Regions from separate parts of the Homo sapiens genome. Here region 1 is linked to region 2. The links are contacts of gene promoters, found by promoter capture Hi-C in blood cells and fetal thymus (Javierre and others, 2016). All regions are on one chromosome and are shown on one strand. The core of a region is centred on a gene start or on the middle of the fragment in contact, and the rest is flanking DNA. Distances in the headings are between cores, read along the strand shown.

Evidence for each region. The method cuts DNA at HindIII sites, captures the fragments that hold promoters and counts their contacts. A CHiCAGO score of 5 or more calls a contact.
Region 1: a fragment that was not itself captured here is called in contact with the fragment with the promoter of USP14 in region 2 in 1 of 17 cell types (monocytes); the score reaches 5.6 in monocytes.

What each region holds. Positions count from the first base shown.
Region 1 is chr18:709,290-714,733 of GRCh38, forward strand. It overlaps ENOSF1 (enolase superfamily member 1), which reads right to left and starts at 3,341. Exons shown (of 16, transcript NM_017512.7): 1 at 3,215-3,341. The coding sequence starts at 3,298. RefSeq lists a silencer at 3,266-3,585 and an enhancer at 3,537-4,116. The HindIII fragment of the contact is 4,938 bases long and covers 1,529-5,444 here.
Region 2 is chr18:154,672-160,501 of GRCh38, forward strand. USP14 (ubiquitin specific peptidase 14) reads left to right here and starts at 3,886. Exons shown (of 16, transcript NM_005151.4): 1 at 3,886-4,043. The coding sequence starts at 4,028. It overlaps LOC105371951 (a long non-coding RNA gene), which reads left to right. Exons shown (of 4, transcript XR_935081.2): 3 at 738-844; 4 at 3,472-3,498. RefSeq lists silencers at 3,558-3,827, 4,098-4,277. The HindIII fragment of the contact is 8,571 bases long and covers 2,862-5,830 here.

The DNA.
Region 1 (5,444 bases), core at 2,748-5,247, 550 kb after region 2:
TCAGAGAGGGAAGAAGGGGCCAGTGGAGGAAGAAGGAGCTGTCAGAAAGGCAGGAGGCCACGAGGGGAGAGAGCACACGAAGAAGAGGCAGCCGACAGCGGAAAACGTATCTGAGGGTAAGGACAGCTGAAGGAGAAATAACAAGGGCAATTCACAGAGAAGAAAGGAACAGAAGTAGATTTCAGATTAAGAAGGAGGTAAGCCCGGAGTAGTGGCTCATGCCTGTAATCCGGCACTTTGGGAGGCCGAGGCAGGTGGATCACCTGAGCTCAGGAGTTCGAGACCAGCCTGGACAACATGGTGAAACCCCGTCTCTACCAAAAATACAAAAATTAGCCAGGTGTGGTGGTGCACACCTGTAATCACAGCTACTCCAGAGGCTGAGGTACGAGAATCATTTGCATATGGGAGGCAGAGGTTGCAGTGAGATGAGATTGCACCACTGCACTCCAGGCTGGGCAACAAGCGAGACTCTGTCTAAAAAAAAAAAGCAGGAGTCTTTAGCAGATTTTGAGGACAGCTTTATTGCTCTTTCTTGAAAATATCCTACTTCTGATCAGGGAGGCTCACTTTGCTAAGTGCTGATGGTCCAGCATGCCTCGAGGGCATGTGAAGCCATCTCCATGGTGAACTGCAAAACAGCTCATTCTAATAAGAAGGCACTTGAGAGCTGGCACACAACATACACCCTATCTCCCCAAGATAAAATGCTTAAGTATTTATGAGCTTGCAATACAGGTGTTAGATAATGTCTCCTTACCCTGTGTTAGACATCACTCAGGCCCAGAGGCAAATTCCATTTCTTGAATTATTCTACAGTAAACCAGGCTGTCTTTTGAGACAGGGTCTCTCTCTCTCACCCAGGCTGGAGTGCAGTGACACAATTACAGCTCACTGCAGCCTCGACCTCCTGGACTCAAGAGATCCTCCCACCTCAGCCTCCTGAGTGGCTGGGACCACAGGTGCATGCAACTACGCCCAGCTAATTTTTGTATTTTTTTGTTGAGACGAGGTCTCACTATGTTGCTCAGGCTGGTCTCGAACTCCTGGGCTCAAGCGATCCACCTGCCTTGGCCTTCCAAAGTGCTGGGATTATAGGCTTGAACCACCACGCTCAGCCAAACCAGGCTGTCTTAACATTTCACAAATTCAAAGTCAAGTCTAGATTAGGGATTCCTTCTGCTTCAGTTTCCTCAGAGTGAATAGTAATTACAGCCACCCCTCCTTTTTTCTTTAGAAACAGGGTCTCACTGTGTCATCCAGTGCCCAGGCTGGAATGCAGTGGCATGATCATAGCTCATGTAATTGAATTCCTGGGCTCAAGTGATCCCCCTGCCTAGGCCTCCACTTAGGATTAGAGGTGTGAGCCCTCATGCCTGGCCTATAGCCAACTTTACTGACGGCCTTCTCTGAGCCAGGCTCTTTACAGGTATCTCATTTACATGTATAAAGTGAATATTATTATACCCATTTTACAGATGAGAAACCTAGGCTTAGAAAGATTGTGTGACTTAGCCACAGCTGCTAAAGCTTCACAGAGGCAAAGGCAGTTGCATGAGATCGAGTGTTTGGATTCTATAAGCCAGTAAAATTTCCAACATTTATTTTGAGTTCCATAAAGGATTGCCTGCTGGGTGTTTAAGTTATTTACCAACATCATGTAAGAAAGGAAACATGAAGATTTTAAAGAGGATGACAGCCTGGGCCCTGTCTCTACAAAAAATACAGAAAGTAGCTGGGCATCATGGTGCACACCTGTAGTCCCAGCTACTTGGGAGGCTGAGGTGGGAGGATTGGTTGAGTCAGGGAGGTCAAGGCTGCTGTGAGCCATGATAGTACCACTGCACTCCAGCTTGGGCAACAGATAAGAGACCCTGCCTCAAAATAAATAAATAAATAAATTTAAAACATAAAATAGAATAAAATAAAAATTTAAAAATGCAGGATGAACTTAATCTCAAAAAGGACATTGTTTTGCATTTAATAACTTTAACGAGAGATCTATTTTTATAAAACATTTCAGGTACAAAAAGAGTATAGATAATGTAATGGACACCAGCTTGCCATCCACCCAATTTAGGAAGTAAAACATTACAATGGGAATTAGAGACCTCGTGGTCCCCTCCGTGACCCCATTTCCTTCCCTCCCTACTGGTAACCATTTTCCTAACATTGCCGTTCCTCACTTCCCAGCATACTTTCACACATTCACTACATACCCATACAACTCTGCTTTTCTAGCGCGGCCAATCTCATCAGTGGACTACGAGGGGCAGTGAGGACCCAGTGGGGAACAGGCTCCCTGAAAACCCTGCACAGAACCCACTGTATTTGGGAAACACCGCTCTAGACGGGGGCAGGGGAGGGAAGGCCTGACATTCTAACACCCTCAGTAAGCAAAAAAGACCTTCAATATTTAGGTAGGAGTCAGAGTTCCTGCCCTTACTTTATTACATCTCTTAAGACGAACTGACATTTGCATCAGTCCTTTCTAAGCGTGTTTGCGGGTAATTTCACGAGAGCGCCCTCTCATGTGACGCAGTTAGCACGCGCTTGGTTTCTCAACCCGACTGTGACACCTTCATTACACAGACGGGTCCAAGAGACCCAGAGAGGTCTGGAACTTCTCCAAGTCACACAGCAAGTTGTGGAAGCGGGATCACCACTCAAAACTCCCAGCCCCGGGCTTCCCGTTCTCCCTCAGCGCCAACCCCGTCGCGTTCAGGGTACAGAGGAAGCCAGCGAGCGCTGTGCTCTAGGGTTTCCACTGGCGGGAACCCAACAAAATCATTTTGCTGCTATTGCCTATTATGCATTCTACCATTTCCAGCAAAATGTGAGTCGTAAAAGTAAAACCAGGATATTCTAAACTCCAGCAAAGAAAAAACCCAGGAGAGTGGAAAGTTTCTGGATACTTATACAATTGCTCCAAGGCATGAAAAGCGAGTGTCTCCCCCAGGCGCGCCTCCCACTTTACAGAAGCAATGGGTTCGAAGTCGGGAAGCTGCCCGGGGCCCGCAGAGCTGCAGTCGGCGGGGCGGGAGGGACCCGGGCCGCAAGCCGCGCGTACCATGGCGTCCGCGCTTACCATGGCGTCCGCGCTTACCATGGCGTCCGCGCTTACCATGGCGTCCGCGCTTACCATGGCGTCCGCGCTTACCATGGCGTCCGCGCTTACCATGGCGTCCGCGCTTACCATGGCGTCCGCGCTTACCATGGCGTCCGCGCCGTGGCCCCCAAGCGACGTGGGGAAGCGCACGTCCCGGACCGAGAGCCGGGAGATCCTGCCGCGCACCATGGCCCCTGCGCCCCGTGGCCGCGGCCCCCGTGCGGTCAGGACTGGTCGGGATCCCGAGCGCGCGGCGGGAGGGCGGGAGGGCGGGAGCGCGGCAGCGCCGCGAGGCGGGGCACCGTCAGGGCATAGAGGGCGCTCATTGGCCGCGCGGCCGCACCCCGTGAACTTGGCCCCATGGGAGCTGCAGTCCCAGCTCCGGGCTCCCGGGGGCGCACTCCGCCTTCCGCCGTTCCCTTCTCAGCCTAGACGGAGCTGACCCCGAGAGGGTTCGCTCAGGGTCGCCGGGGAACCTGGGCAGGCAGGAGGCCTCGCGCCCGGTCGGCGCCTCCGCGGGACCCTGCTCTGCTCGGATGGAAGACTCGTGAAGGGACCTGCCCGGGAGCCGCGCCCTAGAGGGAGAAGTCGGGTCTGAGCGAGTGCATTCGCTCAGCGGCAGATTCCGGCCAGTGGCTCAGCTCCCAAGCCGAGGCCGCTGGTTGTCGCCAGCGTACCCAGGAGAGCGGTGCCCTAGAAAATGCTAGGTCTCTTTCAGTGCCCACAGCCTCAGTTTGCCACCTGATAAATTAAGAGGCAGGTCATCATTGATTACACCCGTACTGATGCAGATGAGGTCCCCGTACCGTGCCTCAGCCTGTAATCCCAGCACTTCGGGAGGCCGAGGCGGGCGGATCACCTGAGGTCAGGCGTTTGAAATCAGCCTGGCCAATACGGCGAAATCCCGCCTCTACTAAAAACAAAAATTAGCAGGGCGTGGTGGTGCGCGCCCGTAGTCCCGGCTACTCGGGAGGCTGAGGCAGAACTGCCTGAACCCGGGAGGTGGAGCTTGCAGTGAACTGAGATCGCGCCACTGCACTGCAGCCCGGGCGACAGAGCAAGACTCCGACTCAAAAAAAAAAAAAAAAAAAAAAAGATGCTGGGCGGCTCACGCCTGTAATCCCAGCAGTTTGGGAGGCCAAGGCGGGCAGATGGCGAGTCAGGAGATCGAGACCATCCTGGCTAACACGGTGAAACCCCGTCTCTACTAAAAATACAAAAAATTAGCCGGGCGTGGTGGCGGGCGCCTGCAGTCCCAGCTACTCGGGAGGCTGAGGCAGGAGAATCGCTTCAACCCAGGAGGCGGAGGTTGCAGTGAGCCGAGATCGCACCACTGCACTCCAGCCTGGGCGACAGAGTGAGACTGTGTCTCAAAAATAAATAAATAAAAAGAAATAAAAAGAAAATCCAAAGTAAGCAGAAGAGAAGAAATAATAAAAATTAAAGCAGAAACCTGTGAAATTGAAAACAGGAAAGCAACAAAGAAAAATCAATGAAAACAAAAGCTGGTTCTTTGAAAACATTGATAAAATCAATAAGCCTCTAACCAGGCAAGAAAAGAGAACGCAAATAACTAATATCAAAAGTGAAATAAGGAACATTACTACAGATCCGACGGACATTAAAATGATAATAAAGGAATACTATGAATTCTATGTCCACAAATTTGATAACCTGGATGAAATAAACCAATTCCTTGAAAGACACAATCTGCCAAAACTCACACGAGAAGAAATGGACAATCTGAATAGGCCTATATCTATTAAATAACTTGAATAAATAATAGCCTTCCAAAAACAAAAAGCACCAGGTCCATGGTTTCACTGGTGAATTTTACACCAAACATTTAAGGAAGAAATTACAACAATTCTCTATAATCTATTTCAGAAGATAGAAACAGCCACAAACTGACTTTATGGTGAATGATTGATGCTTTCTCCTTAAGATTTGGAACAAGGAAAGGATGTCTGCTTCCACCACTTCTATTCAACATAGTACTGCAGGTTCTAGTTAGGGTAATATAATAAGAAAAGAAATAAAAGGCAGATTGAAAAGGAAGTAAACCTGTTTATTCTTGGATGACATGATTATTCATCTTTGTTGAAAACTGTCTTCATTGGACTTAACGAAAAAAGCTACTGGAACTAATATTGAGCTTAGCAAGTTTGTAGGATACAAGGTCAATTTAAAATCTATAGTTGATGTGCTAGTAATAAAAAATTGGAAACAAATTAGAAAACAGTATCTCTTAAAACAATTGCATTGAAGATATAAAACAGGACAAGTTTAACAAAAATATGCAAGATTTGCACACTGAACTATAAAACATTGCTGA
Region 2 (5,830 bases), core at 2,636-5,135:
GCTTGAACCCAGGAGGCGGAGGTTGCAGTGAGCTGAGATGGTGCCACTGCACTCCAGTCTAGGCAAAAAAGTGAGACTCTGTGTGAAAAAGAAAAGAAAAAAAGAATTCACCCTCAGAGCCTCTAGAAGGAATGCAGTCCTGCCAACACCTTAATGTTAAGACCAGTCTCAGACTTCTGACCACCAGAACTGTAAGATAATAATAAACTTACGTTGTTTTAAGCCACTAGGTTTGTGATAATTCATTACAGCACTCATAGGAAACTAAATCAGCCATAATAAAACATAATAGTATTTGACACAAAGGGGTGATTGTATAAGAAGGCTTTCAGTTTATGTGAAAAAGTTAGCATTAAATGGAGATTTTAAAGTTGGACAGGATTTCCCATGGCCAGATGAGGAAGGAGGGTACATTCTAAGCAATAAATTGTAGGTAATTCACCAAGTGAAAACATTTCTGATATTTGGCTATGTTTTATAGAACTTATTTATGTATAAACATGCAGGTTAAGATCTTACCAATTTATTCATTAAAGAAGTCACCCTTAAGAAGAAAATCCCATCCATTAAACACATGGAGGGCAGGGCTTAGCAATGTGTGTCATGGCGATGAGGTCGCTGTCATCTTTAACTCTGACGTTTAGGAAGGCCAGTTGTGCAAATTTCTTTTTATGCTTCCTTTCAGTTGCTAGCATGGTTCCACCTCCTCACTCTGCCCCCATTTGTCTTAAATTTAGGTCTGCGGATCTTCAGAGAGGCTGGAAGAAGCTAGTTGTACCAAAGGGACCAAAACTTGGTCTACAAGATTCCCTGGTCATCTACATGATGAATAAACTTCAAATAGGTAACTTTCACATCCAGTTCTCACAGCATCAAGTAATTCCTGAGTGCCTACGAGATAGCCACGATTCCTGTTTATAGTGTACTTGGGGGAATACAGACATTAAAAAAATAGAAGTGTGATGAGAGTTACTAAAGAAAAAGCTGGCCGGGCATGGTGGCTCACGCCTATAATCCCAGAAGTTTGGGAGGCCGTGGGCAGATAGCTTGAGGCCAGGAGTTTGAGACCAGCCTGGTCAACACAGCAGAAACCCCATCTCTACTGAAAACACAAAAATTAGTCAGGCGTGGTGGTACACACCTGTAATCCCTGCTCCTCAGGAGACTGAGGCATGACGATCACTTGAGCCTGGGAGGCGGAGGTTGCAGTGAGCCAAGATTGCATCACTACACTCCAGCATGGGCGACAGAGCAAGGCTCTCTCTCAAAAAGAAAAAGAAACAACAACAACAAAAAAGCGCAGGTTGCAATGTGAGTGTAGCAGACAGGATGATGATTTTTGCCTCTGAATCTCTCAATCTTTAGGCCTCCTTTACTATCAGCTTCAACAAAGGGCAGCACAGATTTTTCCACAGATGATCTATACATTTTTATTTGGTTTTGTTTTGTTTTTTTGAGACAGAGTCTTGCTTTGTCACCCAGGCTGGAGTGTAGTGGTGCAATCTTGGCTACTGGAACCTCTGCCTCCCAGGTTCAAGCTACCCTCCCATCTCAGCCTCCCGAGTAGCTGGGACTGCAGGAGTGCACCACCACACCTAGCTAAGTTTTAAATTTTTTGTAGAGATGGGGGTCTCACTTCATTGCCCAGGCTAGTCTGGAACTCCTGAGCTCAAGTGATCCACCTGCCTTGGCCTCCCAAAGTGCTGGGATGACAGACGTAAGCCATGGTGCCCGGGCAATCTATGCAATACATTTTTAAATATGTATGTTATAGAAATATGTTACTGAACATAAAAAAAATAGAAAATAAAGCTATCCATAGCCTGCTATTCTAACATACCCTGCAAAATCCCTTTGAAGTTTTACTGTGTAATATAAAATAGGTATCATAGCACATGTGCAATGCACTGTGCTAAGAATCTTCTATACATAATCTTATTTAGTCCTTATAACAATCCTGAGATGTATCTCCATTTTACATGCACAGCTTGAACACATTGCTAGTTTAGTTCCAGACCACTGCAATATTGCTGATATTGTAATAAAATGAGTCACACAAAGTTTTTGTTTTCCCAGTGCATATAAAAGTTATGTTTCTACTATACTGTAGTCTATTTAGTGTCAAGGCTGGGTGCAGTGGCTTATGCCTGTAATCCCAGCACTTTGGGAGGCCTAGGTGGGCAGATTGCTTGAGACCAGGAGTTCAACACCAGCCAGGGCAACATGGCGAAATCCCGTCTTTACAAAACATACAAAAAAAATTAGCCGTGTGTGGTCCCAGTTACTCAGGAGGCTGAGGTGAGAGGATAGCTTGAGCTGGGAGGTTGAGGCTGCAGTGAGCCGTAATTGCGTCACTGCACTCCAGCCTGGGTGACAGAGTGAGACCCTGTCTCAAAACAAACAAACAAAACTTTACTGCTAAAAAATGCTAAGGATCATCTGAGCTATCAGTGAATCATCATCTTTTTGCTGGCAGAGGGCTTGCCTTAATGTTGATGGCTGCTGACTGATCAGAGCGGTGGATGCTAAAGTTTGGGGTAGCTGTGGCAATTTCTTAAAATAAGACAATAATGAAATCTGCCACGTCGATTGACTCTTCCTTTCATGAAAGTTTTCCCTGTGACATGCAGTGCTGTTCAGCATTTTACCCACAGAAGAACTTTCAAATTTGAATTTCTTTCAAAATTAGAGTCAATCCTGTCAAATTCTGCTGCTGTTTTATCAACAGTTCCATAGTTTATGATATTCTAAATCCTTTGTTGTCATTCAACAGTGTTCACAGCGTCTTCACCAGGAGTAGTTTCCATCTCAAGAAACCACTTTCTTTGCTTATCCATAAGAAGCGACTCCTTGCCCATTAAAGCTTTGTCTTGAGATTGCAGCAATTCAGTCACATCTGTGGGCTCCACTTCTAATTCTAGTTCTCTTGCTATTGCCACCACACCTGCAGTTGTGTCCTGAACTCAAGCCTTGAACCCTTGTGGGAAAAGACTTGTTGCCAGAGCAGTCAGAATACACAAAACATTGGAGTTAGCTGTTTTACACGGGGGTGGTTAGTGGCACCCCAAAACAACTAAAATAGTAATCATAGATCACTGGAACAGATATAATAGTATTTAAAAAGTTCAAAATATTGTGAGAATTACCAAAATGTGACACAGAGACACGAAGTGAGCACATGCTGTTAGAAAAACAGAACTGATGGACTTACTAACCCAGGGTTGCCACAAACCTTCAATTTATATATATATATATATAAATATATATAAATATATAAATATATATAAATATATAAAAATATATAAATATATAAAAATATATAAATATATATATATAGAACGCAATAAAATGAGGTGTGGGTGAAAAGAAAACTGAGGTTTGCAGACATCATACAGCTAGCTAGTAACAGCTGGGTTTCAAAACACCTCTGACTTTACAACCACTAATTTTATTTATTTTATTTTGAGGCAGGGTCTCGCTCTGTCGCCCAGGCTGGAGTGCGGTGGCACGATCACAGCTCACTGCAGCCTCGACCTCCTGGGCTCAAGCGATTCTCCCGCCTCAGCCTCAGACAGCAGGTGGGATACCAAGTTCCCACTTCATCTGCCGCAGGGCTGGGCCGCGCCAGGACCACGTGGCCAGTGCGCGCAGGGCGATGGGCGGCAGTGCGCAGGCGCGCACCTGCTGCGGTGGATGGGGCCCCGCGCCCGTCCCTCACTTGCTCCCTCCTTCCTTCCCGCCACCCCTCCACCGCCTTCCCCCTCCTCCCTCCTCTCGCCACCTCTAGGCCCCGCCCCGGTCCTGCCGCCCAGTCTCCTCGCTGCAGTCGCTCCGGAGCTGCACGGGTGTTTTGCGTGTTGCTGCGTCATCGCCAGTGGCCGGTTTGAATGAGACTCGTCGCACCGAAGCCGCCGCCACCACCGCGCCTCCGCCTCGGCCGCCGCCGCAGCTGCTCCTGGTCCCCGTCCCTTTGCCGCCCTCGTCAGGCCCAGCTCTCCTGCGCCGCCGCCTCCCGCCGCGCCCCGCCATGCCGCTCTACTCCGGTGAGCCCTGTCCTGGCCTCGCGCGCAGCACACCGGACCGGCGCTAGGCCTCCGCGTAGGCCTGGCCTGCACGGGCGGGCACCCGGCATGGACTGGGAGGGGCCGGGGTGGGGTGCGCGGGGCCGGCGGCGCGGAGATGACCCAGGCACCGTCCCCTCTCCCGGCTGGGTCGGAGCCCTGCGTGGCAGGGGAGCGCCGTCCCCCTGAGCCACCGATGGGTGGGGGGAGTGGAGATGGGGAAGCCTCTCAAAGTCGTGACTCTGCAGAATAGTTTCTGACGCTGCCCTGGTGTGCGGTGAAAGTGAGGGTGTGTCCTGGGGCGCTGGGCCAGGCTGGAGGTGCAGGGAGATTCCTTTGGGCTTCTCAGTGGTCGCCGTGGAAGGGAGCGGGGAAGAAGGGGAGGGATGGAGCGACCCTTCTTGGGGTTGCCAAGCGGCGTTCGCCGCCCTTCGTCGTCCTTCGCCCTTCTCTTGCCCCTTGCCTTTGTTCGACCGCCCCTTTGGTACCAGTTTTAGTTTTGTCCCGAGGCAGATTGTAAACCTTTTTGCTTCGTTTTCGTTTCATCAAACGTTGCATTGGATTTCTGTATCCGAAACGTGGTGTGAGCTTTCAGAAGTAGATGAATACACATATCCCCGGGGTGTCATTTCTTGATTGGCGTTTGACAGGGGCTTGTATTGTTTGCTTGCTGACAGTCCAGGGTACTGGCCAGGGATCACTTTTACTTAGGGAATGGACCTTGCTGCTCCCTAGCCTTATTCAAAATGGCACCTAAAATATGTGTGGTGTCTCCAATTGGCTGTAGGTGTGTGATTCGTTGACCATCCCTGTTTATTCTGTTACAGTTCCTTTATTGAAGATTCAGCATTTACAAAGCATGATACGAATCAAGAGTATTGTTTGATCTCAAGGTGGATTCTTGATGGTCTAGAATCTTGAATCGAATTCTTAATGATTGCCCAACCCCTTTCTAAAGCCATAACAACAGTAGAATGGCTCTTGAAATATTCTAATACTTAAACACACCAGTAGATTCACACACATAAAACAAAACCCCTCTGTTTCCTCAAAATGCCAGCGCTGACCAGAGTTTCTTTTTTAAAATTTGAGCTTTATCTTAAATATTTAATCAGATCTTTTCCTCATCCCCCAAATGAAGGAACTCAAGTAGATTTCTAAGGTCCCTTCCTTTGACCTCTCCATATTGAGAATCTGTATTTTGAGGGTCAGCAAAAAGCTCTATATTAAAATGAAGAGAACATTTTAAGTACTATTTCATAAGATTTAGTAGAAAATTAAGTATCTAGTCTGAGCGCGGTGGCTCACGCCTGTAATCCCAGCTCTTTGGGAGGCTCGAGGCGGGCGGATCACTTGAGGTCAGGAGTTCGAGACCGCCTGGCCAACATGTTGAAACCCTGTCTCTACTAAAAATACAAAAAATCAGTCGAGAGTGGTGGCAGGTGCCGGTAATCCCAGCTACTGGGGAGGCTGAGGCAGGAGAATCGCTTGAACCTGTGAAGCGGAGGTTGTAGTGAGCCAAGATCGCGCCATTGCACTTCAGTCTGGGTGAAAAAAGCGAAACTGGGTCTCAAGAAAAGAAAAAAAGAAAATTACATATCTAGATTATTAAATGGTTAAGGATAAGTGCAGTTAAAAATTAAAGCCAGGGGCCATGATGTATGCTTTTAATCCCAGCTACTCGGGAAGCTGAGTTGGGAGGATCACTTGAGCCAAGGAGTTAGAGGGTGCTGTGATCTGTGATCACGCCACTGCACTCCAGCCTGGGT